3 separate regions of the Homo sapiens genome follow, and regions 2 and 3 are each linked to region 1. The links are contacts of gene promoters, found by promoter capture Hi-C in blood cells and fetal thymus (Javierre and others, 2016). All regions are on one chromosome and are shown on one strand. Each heading gives the region's core, a stretch centred on a gene start or on the middle of the fragment in contact. The rest is flanking DNA. Distances are from core to core; before and after follow the strand shown.

Region 1 (3,083 bases), core at 16-2,515:
GATCAGCTATTTTTTTCTTTTTCTACTGCTGGGACTAGCCCTAGAACCAAGGCGACAGCCTTTGGAGGAGTATAGGGCAGCCAGAAAACAAAGCTGAAATGGGCTGAAGTCATAGGACCTTCTTGGTTCACCCTTCTCCTTCTCTCACATCCAGAGGGAGAGGAGGCTGGAGGAGACTGGAGAGTGCAGGCAGGATAGGGAAGGGCTGGCAGGGCCAAGAGCCTCCTGGGATGACAACAGGCTTCAGGCCAGTGGGCTTCTCACCTCCGGAAGTGGTGTGCAGCTGGGTAGGTAGGTGACAGCTTCTGTCTCAGGTACTGGAAGTCCTGCTCACTCCACACCTGAGGGAAGCGGTGAGGATGCCTGCTTGGTCTTTCCCCAGTGGGACGGTCTGTCCCTCCTCCCAGCCTGGGTTCCGCACCGTGCTGCACAATCTCACCTCCTCCAGCAAAGCCAGGTCGAAGCTCTCCTGGTTCAGAAAGTCTCCCAGGCGCCTCATGCGGTCGGCCCGGTGCTTGCTCAAGTACGGAATGCCCCTAAGGAAGGGAAGAGCGGGGCAGGGGAGGCGACTGCTGGGACCACCGGCGCTGGGGCCAGATGTGGACTTTGGAGGTTCGGGTTTTCCCTACACCCTGAGATCGTGGGGCGGGATAGGGGGAGGAAGGCTGCATGGGTGCGAACGGAAGGTGGCCCCCAGACCGCACTCCGCAGACGCACTCACCAGCAGTTGAGGTTGAAGATCCGCAGTCGCAGGGAGAAGTTGGGCTTCATGGTTGGGGAGCTCCAGGGGCGCTAGGCGGCTCGAACTCTCCAGCGACGGCCGCGGTGGGGACGGGGGCGGCCGGCGGCGCCTTCTCCCCAGACCGTTCCTTCTTCGCAGGCGGCGCGCACAGGTGGGCACCAAGCCCGCGTGGCTCAGGTCGGGCCCGACTCCCGCGTTCCCCCGGCAACCGGCCGGCTGTTCCCAATCAGGCGGGCCGCCAACCCGGAAAGGCGATCCGCTGCCGAAATCCGGGCGCCCAGGCTCGGTAAGGGCCGCGCGCTAGGACCCTGGGGGTCCGGAGAGCGCCCCCGGGTGGGCGGCTCCCGGTTCCTTTTCCTCCAAGCTCGTCCCCGGCGGTCGCGGCCGCCCGCGCGCCGGCGGCCCAGCAACAGGCGCAAAGTTGAGGAAAGGCCCAGCCGCCACGGGCCGCCCTCGACCCGCCCCTGGGCCCCGCCTCCTGCGAGCGGCGGAGGCGGGGCCGCGCGGTTGCCGGAGCGACGCGCAGTGTTTGGGGTCACCGGGCGTCCCCGGGCGCGGCCATGGCAAGGCCGCAGCCGTGCGGGCCCCCGCACGCTAGGTGCGGCTCGCCGTCGCTGCCGGAGCGGCCGCTGCAGGTGAAGGTGGTGGGGCTCTTCAGCTGCCCCAACTTTCAGATTGCGAAGAGCGCCGCTGAGGTAACCACAGAGAAACCTCCGTCGTGGGCGGCCCTCCCCGCTACCCGCTCTCGGCCGCGTGGACTGCAGGCGCCGCGCCTCCTCGAGGCGGCGGGGGTCGAGGCCCCACCGGCCGAGGAAGGGGCTGGCGTGTCCTGGCCGGGCGGGCTCCGTCTGGAGGACCGGGAGGAGAGTATAGGGGGGCAAGTGCGGGTCCGGGGGCGGGCGTTCCACTTGGCGACTTTTAAAGGGAGAACTGAGCGAAGGAAGGGTTCAGAACCGCGCTGGGAGATAAGGTAATCCCCTCCGAGACACACACACACACACCCGCAGATTTTGTTCTACGTCAATTTTTTCTTTAATTAGAGATATTTAAATTTATGGAAAAATGATTACTATATAACTAGCTAATTTTTACAACCCCGCCACCTCGGCCCAAGCGATTTTTGTTAACTATTCATGCGGGGAGATTCTTTTCTTTGAATTTTATAGAGCCGTCACTGCGTTCCAATCGAACTAGATGCTTCACAAGTGCTTTGGAAAATCATTTCTTTGTAAACACTCAGAACGATACTAAAGGAAAAGCACTTGAGGAAACTGGAAGAATTTGGCCAGATCAGTCATGCTGCAGCACACTTACAACCTGAAATGCAGGAGAAATGTATGAAATGTCGGCATGTAGAATTCAGCCCTTCTTACAGGGTTTGCTCCAGAAATGCTGTCCATGGCAAACTTCTCGCCGAAGCTCACTTGACTCCAGGACCATGCCTTAATTAATGTTTTTAACTCCCGAAGTACCCAGCTGGATACTTGACAACAAAATGTTCCCAAATAGAAGATATCTTGGCGCGGTGACTCACGCCTATAATCTCAGCACTTTGGGAGGCAGAGGCGGAGTTCTAGACCAGCCTGGCCAACATGGTGAAACCCCGTTTCTACTAAAAATACAAAAAATTAGCCGGGCGTGGTGGCGGTCTCTGTAATCCCAGCTACTCAGGAGGCTGAGGCACAAGAATCGCTTGAACCCGGGAGGCGGAGTTTGCAGAGAGCTGAGATCGCGCCATTGCCCTCCAGCCTGGGCGACAGAGCCAGACCCCGTCTCAAAATAAATAAATAATAAAAAGAAAACAAGTGATCAGAAGTCTGTGAAAATAATACATGAATCATCAAAAGTAGAAATTGTGGTCTGTGTTGCTTGGGCAGACGGGATCAGCAACCTTTTATTACCAAAGTTAATGGCCATGAAGTTAATTACAAAGTTAATGTATTAATGAGTTTCAGAGATTTTTTTTCTCTTTTTTTTCGCTCTTTTTCTGAAGGCACATATTTTCTGTGCCGACTCCACATTGTAAAGAAAGTGTTGACAAGTTTTTTTCTGTAAAGTCCAGATAGTAAATATGTTAGGCCTTCTTGGCAATAGGGTCTCAGTCACACCTGTTTAGCTTTTTCCTGTGTTGCAAAAGCAGACACAGAGATGGAAATGAATGACAGTATTCCAGTAAAACCATATTATGGACACGAAATTTGACTTGCGTATAATTTTCACATAACGTGAAATACAATTCTTTTGATTTTTTAGAATTGTTTACAGGCCGAGCGCGGTGGCTCTTGCCTATAATCCCAGCACTTTGGGAGGCTGAGGCGGGCAGATCACGAAATCGGGAGTT
Region 2 (3,230 bases), core at 387-2,886, 610 kb before region 1:
TGGTTAAGAATTATACTTACCATTTTGGAATGATAATTGCAAATTCTTGTGGTTTCCCCAAATAGAGGGGGCCCATCCCAGAGGGAAAGCACTGTGGACAGTCTGCATGGAGTCTTGTGGGGTCCTCAGGGCTGTGTGGAATGCCTACCCACGCCGAGGAGGTCAGTGAGGAGCCACGACCTAGGCCAGGATTTGGCAGGAACAACACTGAAACCTTCCATTTGAAACTGGAGGGATGCTTGCGACGGTTGCCAGACTGGAGAGCCATGTTCCCTCTGTTGGGCAGTGATCTCACACAGTACCCAATCTGGGGTAAAACACCTCACCTTTGTATCTGGTTTGTGTTTGTGACTTCTACTCCACAGAATGTGGTTTAGGCATCTATTCATTCAATCCTTCTGAAAGGATTGACACCTGTTATATACAAGGCTCATATGGGAAGAAGAATAATCAGCAGCAAGGACACCAGCTAACATTTGTTAAATGCCTATCACATACCACGTCCTATGACAGGGACCCTTAAGCCTTAGGAAGCTGGTCTGCTCTGGATTCACATAGTGGGTGGCTCTGGTTTCCCTTGCTTTCACCAAACCCTGTGAGGGAGGCACTACTAGTATTCTCATTTACATATGAAGAAATGGAGGCACACGGAAGTTAAGTAACCTGCCCGAGGTCATATACTTAGAACATACAGAACTAGGATTTCAGCCTAAATGTCCGGGGTCCTTGGGCTCAGCCATTGTGCTACGCTGCATATGTGTGGTACATGAATGAGAAAATTGTCCCTGAGGAAGGTCTAGAAAGTGGCTGTCAAAGGTGAATAGCAACTAGTAGGAAAGAATGTGAGCCATCCTCCAGAGTTTGAACCCAGATGTCTGACTGTGCAGCCCTGTTCCTAACCATTTGTGCTTACTGTCTGTGTTAGAGAAACAGAACCAATAGGATATAGATATTTATATATAATAAAGAACTGGTTCACATGATTACGGAGGCTAAGCACTGGGATATATATATATATATATATATATATATATATATATATATATATATAAAATGAGGAAGCGGCTCATGTGATTATGGAGGCTGAGAGGTTCTGATCTGCCATCTGCAAGCTGGAGGCCCAGGAAAAGGTAATTCAGTCTGAGTCCAAAGGTCACAGAAACAGGGGAGCCAAGGTGTAAGCCCCAGTCTAAGGGTAGGAGAAGATGAGATGAGATGTCCCAGCTTAAGCAGAGAGGCAGGAAGAAAAAAATAGGTGAATTCCTTTTTTCTCAGCCTTTTGCTCCATTCAGGCCCTCAATGGATGATGCCCACCCACACTGGGGAGGGGAGTCCCCACTGTGGGATTACTGAGCCCACCAGTTCAAATGCCAGTCTCATCCAGGAACATCCCCACAGACACACCCCGAAATAATATTGAATCTGGGCATCCCAAGGCTCAGTCAAGTTGACACATAAAATTAACTGCCTATTGAAAAGTATATTAGGATGCAAGTTCGGATGCTATAGCAAAGACGAAAACAGCAGTGGACAAAGCAAGAAAGAAGTTGGTTTCTCTTCCATAACTGTTCAAGCCTAGAAGTCCAGGGCTGGTATCCTGGTTCAATGGTGTGGGAGACCCAGGCTCTTTCATCTCATTCCACAGCCATCCCCAACATGTGGGTTCCATCTGATTGTCTAAGCAGCAACGACTCCACTTACCATGTCTGCATTCTAGCCAAGGGAGAAGGGGAAGAGAAGGGGAAGCTGTCTCTTTCTCTTCGAAGGCACCATTTGGAAGCCATTTACCTCATTTCTTCTTACATGGCAGTAGTCAGAACTAATTGACTGTACCTTGCTGCAAGGAAGGCTGGGAATATGTTATTAGTGTCCTGAAGTTGTATTCTTTTACAAGATAGAGAGAATGAATAGTCGAGTATATCTAGCATTTGTTTCCACAGGAAATATTTACTAGAGGTGAGGCATATAGAGGATCAGATGAACGAGGCTGATAGGAGTGTACCGGTCCCTGCTGCAGAGTTAGAGGTGTGGGACCTAATCAGGCTCCGGTCCCTGCTGCAGAGTTAGAGGAGTGGGACCTAGTCAGGCTGCTTGAGTCTGGATGCCGGTTGCACTGTTCATGTGTGTGTATGATTTTAACCACAAGTTACTTTATCTGTAAAACTGGGATAATAACACTTTATTTGGATGCCATGAGTATTAAATGAGATAATCCATCTAAATGTTTCCTGTTCTTTTTGGCTTAATCTGGATTCCCTGGAAAACAGAATCTGAGGCAAAGTTGAAGTAGTAATGCTTTTTAATGAAGTGCAATAGTAGGGCAGCCAGTGTGAGGCAGGGAAGGATGGGAAGCAAATGCCGGGCCCCGCTGCTGACCTGGCCAAGGCTTCACGAAGACACAGCCTGTCAGATGGCCCCAGGAGATGCCTTTTGGACAGGCCAGAGGAAGGAATAGCAGGCGACTTGATCTGCAGAATCCCTCCTGACTCCTATCCCCAACAGATCAAGGTTCATCCCCTGTGGAGTTTCATATCCCACACTTTGGGGTTGCATCACCTGGCCCTTTTAGAAACTGCTGAGGAATCCATCCCCCGTGCATTGTGGTGTGGCTCTTCTTCCAAGTCTGGGAGGGGCGCATGGAGTCTCAGCTCTGGCTGCTGGTCAGTGACTCCATGCCCTACTGTGGAATCATCTGGCAGAGTCAGTTGATGCAGGGGCTGCAGACGTTACATGGATAATGGAGGGTGGAAGGATTTAGAGCTTAAATAGTCTAAGGCAGCTCATAAGATGTATCGAGTCCATTATTATTATGTGTTGGAAAGAACAGCAGCTTTGACATTAGACAGCACTACCATTCTCTAGCTATGACACCTTAGGTTTAATGTACTCTCACTGAGACTTGGTTTTCTCACATATAAAGATGTGGTGACCACACCGGCTTGACAAGCTATTATGAGGATTAAATAATGCAATTGATGTGAAAGGACCTGGTGCTATGCCTGGTAAACAGCAGCTTCCTGCCTGGTTTCCCATTCTGCGGTCGGGGGAACCAGATCCTCCTTCCCCTGCCAGTGTTTGGTATGTGCAATTGACATGTATCTCATGCATCTTTTGATATTCTGTAAAGAGCCATGCAAACAGGATTTTAAGACAAGTATCCTATCCCTTTCCAACAAGATAGCCACTCCTAGAATATTTCTATGTTCAAATTCTAGAACCGAGATGATCAC
Region 3 (3,210 bases), core at 672-3,171, 890 kb after region 1:
TACGATGATGCATTTGGAGGGCAAGTATGTATGCTTGCAGGGTAAAAAAAAGCCGGGGTTCCAAAAAAGAGTGAACATTTACCTGAAATGGAATTGGATAGAAGAGAAATTGGGAAGAATTCTCTGTTTTGGTAATAGGAGATAATGATATTTGTCATTACCCAACCTTGATTTGTCAGTAAGTTGCAGGTCCTGAATTAAGCACTTTATTGGAATGCTTAGACCTCACAAAGACCATGTGAGGTACATACAATAGTGCTAAGTGGCAGGGGGTTGAGAATTCAGGCTCTGAGTTAAGTCTGATTCCTCATTTACCAGCCATGCGACCTTGGGATATTACTTAATCATGAAGCCTCATGTCTTTATCTTTAAAATGAGAATACCTTCTAAGATTGTTGGAAGGATTGGGATAATTGAAATTATGAATCTAAAGCACTTAGTATTAGAGCACTAGGGGGTGCTTTAAAAATAGTCATGCCCAGGCTCCACCTTGGACCAACTGAATTAGAAATTCTGAGGTCAGGGTCTGGCATTGACTGATTGTTGTTGTTGTTGTTTTTAAATATTTGCCAGGTGAATCTAAGGCAGTGAAGGTTGAGAACCCTGAGATAGAGGTCTCTGTGCTGCACATGCCAGCGTTTGCCTTCAGCTCTGACTCTCTGGTTCCTGCTTAGAATGAGGACAGAGCCATGAACTGACTACACACAGGGGGCAGCTTCCATACACAAAACATCTCGGTTTGTTTCTAGAACAACCTACCACAGCAGGGACCATCCCTCTCATTTTACCAGGATTTGCCTCAGGTCACACAGTGAGTGGCAGGCCTAGGATTCGAACTGAGAATTCTGAGTCCATGGTGCATTCTCCTCTTCCCCAGTACTGCACTGCCTCTCCAAAATGAGCCTAAAGAAAGGGGGCTTTATGTGAGCCTTTTGGCCTGGAGAAAAGGGGCTGGAACCAGATAAGCAAACATAACCCGAGACACTTCCCCAACCTGTCTAAAGCTAGTGGTTATCTGGCCAAATCTGCCCCAATAGGGTTAGTTTTTGGTTCTCTCTGGTGTTTTTTAAATTTTTGATCTCTTGAGGTCAGGAATTCAAGACCAGCCTGAGCAAGATAGCAAGACCCCCATCTCTAAAATCTTTTAAAATTAGCTAGGTGTGGTGGCATGCACCTGTAGTCCCCCAGGTGCTTGGGAGGCTGAGGTGGGAGGATCACTTGAGTCCAGGAATTCAAGGCTGCAGTGAAATATGATTGTGCCACTGCACTACAGCTTGGATGACAGAGAAAGACTCCATCTCTTAAAAAAAAAAAAAAAGTTTCTTAGTCTGTTGCCAACATTTAAAAGGAAGAGATTTCACCTAAAATTTGGATTTCTAGCTCTTCTTGAGAAATTGGAAGATATGGTAACACTGGCACTATACCCACAGGGTAACAGTTAGCTGGTATGTGCTCTAGTTAGTTCACCTCTTCCTCATCAGGCTCTCCCCACCAATCTCTGGGTGACTTAGCCACCCTGATTTGGATCTTTTACCTTCATAGTGGCATTGACCCGCTCCAGTTCATGAGAGAAGACTGTGCACATCTTGGTAGTTTGAAATGGACTACTATGGGAGTATTTACATCACAGAAATTGGCAAATCCATCAAGGCTTGCTTGCTTTTTTTTTTCCTTCCTTTTCTTCTTTCGGAGGGCCAGTCTGCCAGCACACCATTGCCCCTACTCCACTCAGCCACTGTCTTGCATTCTGAGGAGGAAGATTTGTTCTGAATAGAAAGTAAAGGAAACAGAAGCACTGGAGAAACTGTACGTCGATTCTGCTTAGCAACTGATTATACATTATCTAACCTTGTTTTTAAAGTACTTCAATTTAACACAATGGAGCAAATAACCAGAACAAACTTCCTGATGAAAACTAAAGCTGGATAAGATTTTTAAAAATTTTTTAAATGGATTTTATTGAGCTGGCAAAAAAGGAAGAAACCCACAGAGACCAAAAACAAAGTTAAGGTGGGAAGTGAGCACACTCCTAGAAAATCTGACAACATTTGAGCTTCTACTTTGACAGGTGTGTAGAGTCTGGGACACAGAAGATAAATCCTCAGTCTTGTCCAAGATCAGGAGAATAAGAAGACTCTACCCCCCTAAAACCAGAAGTCCAAAGGGCCAAAGTAAAGGCGAATGTGAAATTAACTGGCTTTGCAGAAGAGGATCCCAGGAAAAATCGTCTGTCTTGATCAAAGCCCTGAATAAAAGAGTATAAAAAATATTCTTCCTTGAAAATTCACAACTATGGTGTGGTCCGTATGTAATATTATGACCAAAATTCATGATACCATGGAATTATTTTAAAAACTTCATGAGCCCCAGTTTGTGGTGCTTTTAACAACTGGCAGAAGGAAAGACACATCCTCTTGGAGGGCTATCTTGAGCCTAGGCCCCAAAGAACTTCCATAATCATAATCAGAAAACACAAAACATATAATAAGCAAGGCTCCATGTAGGAGCAGACAGAAACAAAATGTAAGGTCAGATACACAAAGGCTGGGGTATGAGAATAAGCTGACACAGAAAATAAGTGTACTTAATAGGTTTAAACAAAAAGGAAGTTTGAAAATAGAAGAAAGGAACAAGAGTCTATAAAAAACAACTGAGTAGATTTGAAATCAAAATACTTCTTTGTTTTTCTTCCCAGCTAGATATTATGTCCTTGAAGACACAGGGATCAGGCTAAACACTATATGTTATCGTTTGTCAATTGAAGGAAGTTAGAAACAAAGTACTCAATTTTTTTTGAAACCCAGCAGTAAGAATGAGAGTTGTGACTACATTTTTAAAATGTAAATGTAAAAACTCCTGTTGTAAATGTTAATCAATCTCTTCTAGAGGAAAGGAAGACAAAATCAAAATTAATGCAATGCTTCCGGCTGACTGGCCTCCAGCAAATGGCATTGAGCTTTGTAAGTGGTCCATCTACTCCATTTCTCATCTTGCAAAAATTTGTGAAGTGAGCATGTGTCCATGTCCATGTGTTAGAAAATCTATTTAAAATGCTGGCTGGGCGCAGTGGCTCACCCCTATAATCCCAGCATTTTGGGAGGCAGGGGCGGGAGGTTCACTTGAGGCCAGGAGTTCGAGACCAGCCTGGCCAACATGGTGAAGCCTCATCTCTACTAAAAATACAAAAATTAGCTGGGCGTGGTAGTGCGC

What was found. The method cuts DNA at HindIII sites, captures the fragments that hold promoters and counts their contacts. A CHiCAGO score of 5 or more calls a contact.
Region 2: a contact is called between a fragment that was not itself captured here and the fragment with the promoter of PPIL6 in region 1, in 1 of 17 cell types (neutrophils). The highest score is 6.8, in neutrophils.
Region 3: a fragment that was not itself captured here is called in contact with the fragment with the promoter of PPIL6 in region 1 in 1 of 17 cell types (total CD4 T cells); the score reaches 5.1 in total CD4 T cells.

Annotation. Positions count from the first base shown.
Region 1 is chr6:109,438,810-109,441,892 of GRCh38, reverse strand. It overlaps PPIL6 (peptidylprolyl isomerase like 6), which reads left to right and starts at 1,265. Exons shown (of 8, transcript NM_173672.5): 1 at 1,265-1,437. The coding sequence starts at 1,303. It overlaps SMPD2 (sphingomyelin phosphodiesterase 2), which reads right to left and starts at 1,169. Exons shown (of 10, transcript NM_003080.3): 1 at 722-1,169; 2 at 440-536; 3 at 265-341. The coding sequence starts at 771. RefSeq lists enhancers at 285-364, 525-594 and silencers at 1,008-1,213, 855-1,674. The HindIII fragment of the contact is 7,598 bases long and covers 1-3,083 here.
Region 2 is chr6:110,049,569-110,052,798 of GRCh38, reverse strand. No RefSeq gene overlaps it. Among named protein-coding and RNA genes, the nearest start is that of GPR6, 73 kb to the right of the region's middle. The HindIII fragment of the contact is 4,700 bases long and covers 1-3,230 here.
Region 3 is chr6:108,552,226-108,555,435 of GRCh38, reverse strand. LOC124901372 (a long non-coding RNA gene) reads left to right here. Exons shown (of 2, transcript XR_007059700.1): 2 at 2,069-3,210. Among named protein-coding and RNA genes, the nearest start is that of FOXO3, 7.1 kb to the left of the region's middle. The HindIII fragment of the contact is 5,724 bases long and covers 1-3,210 here.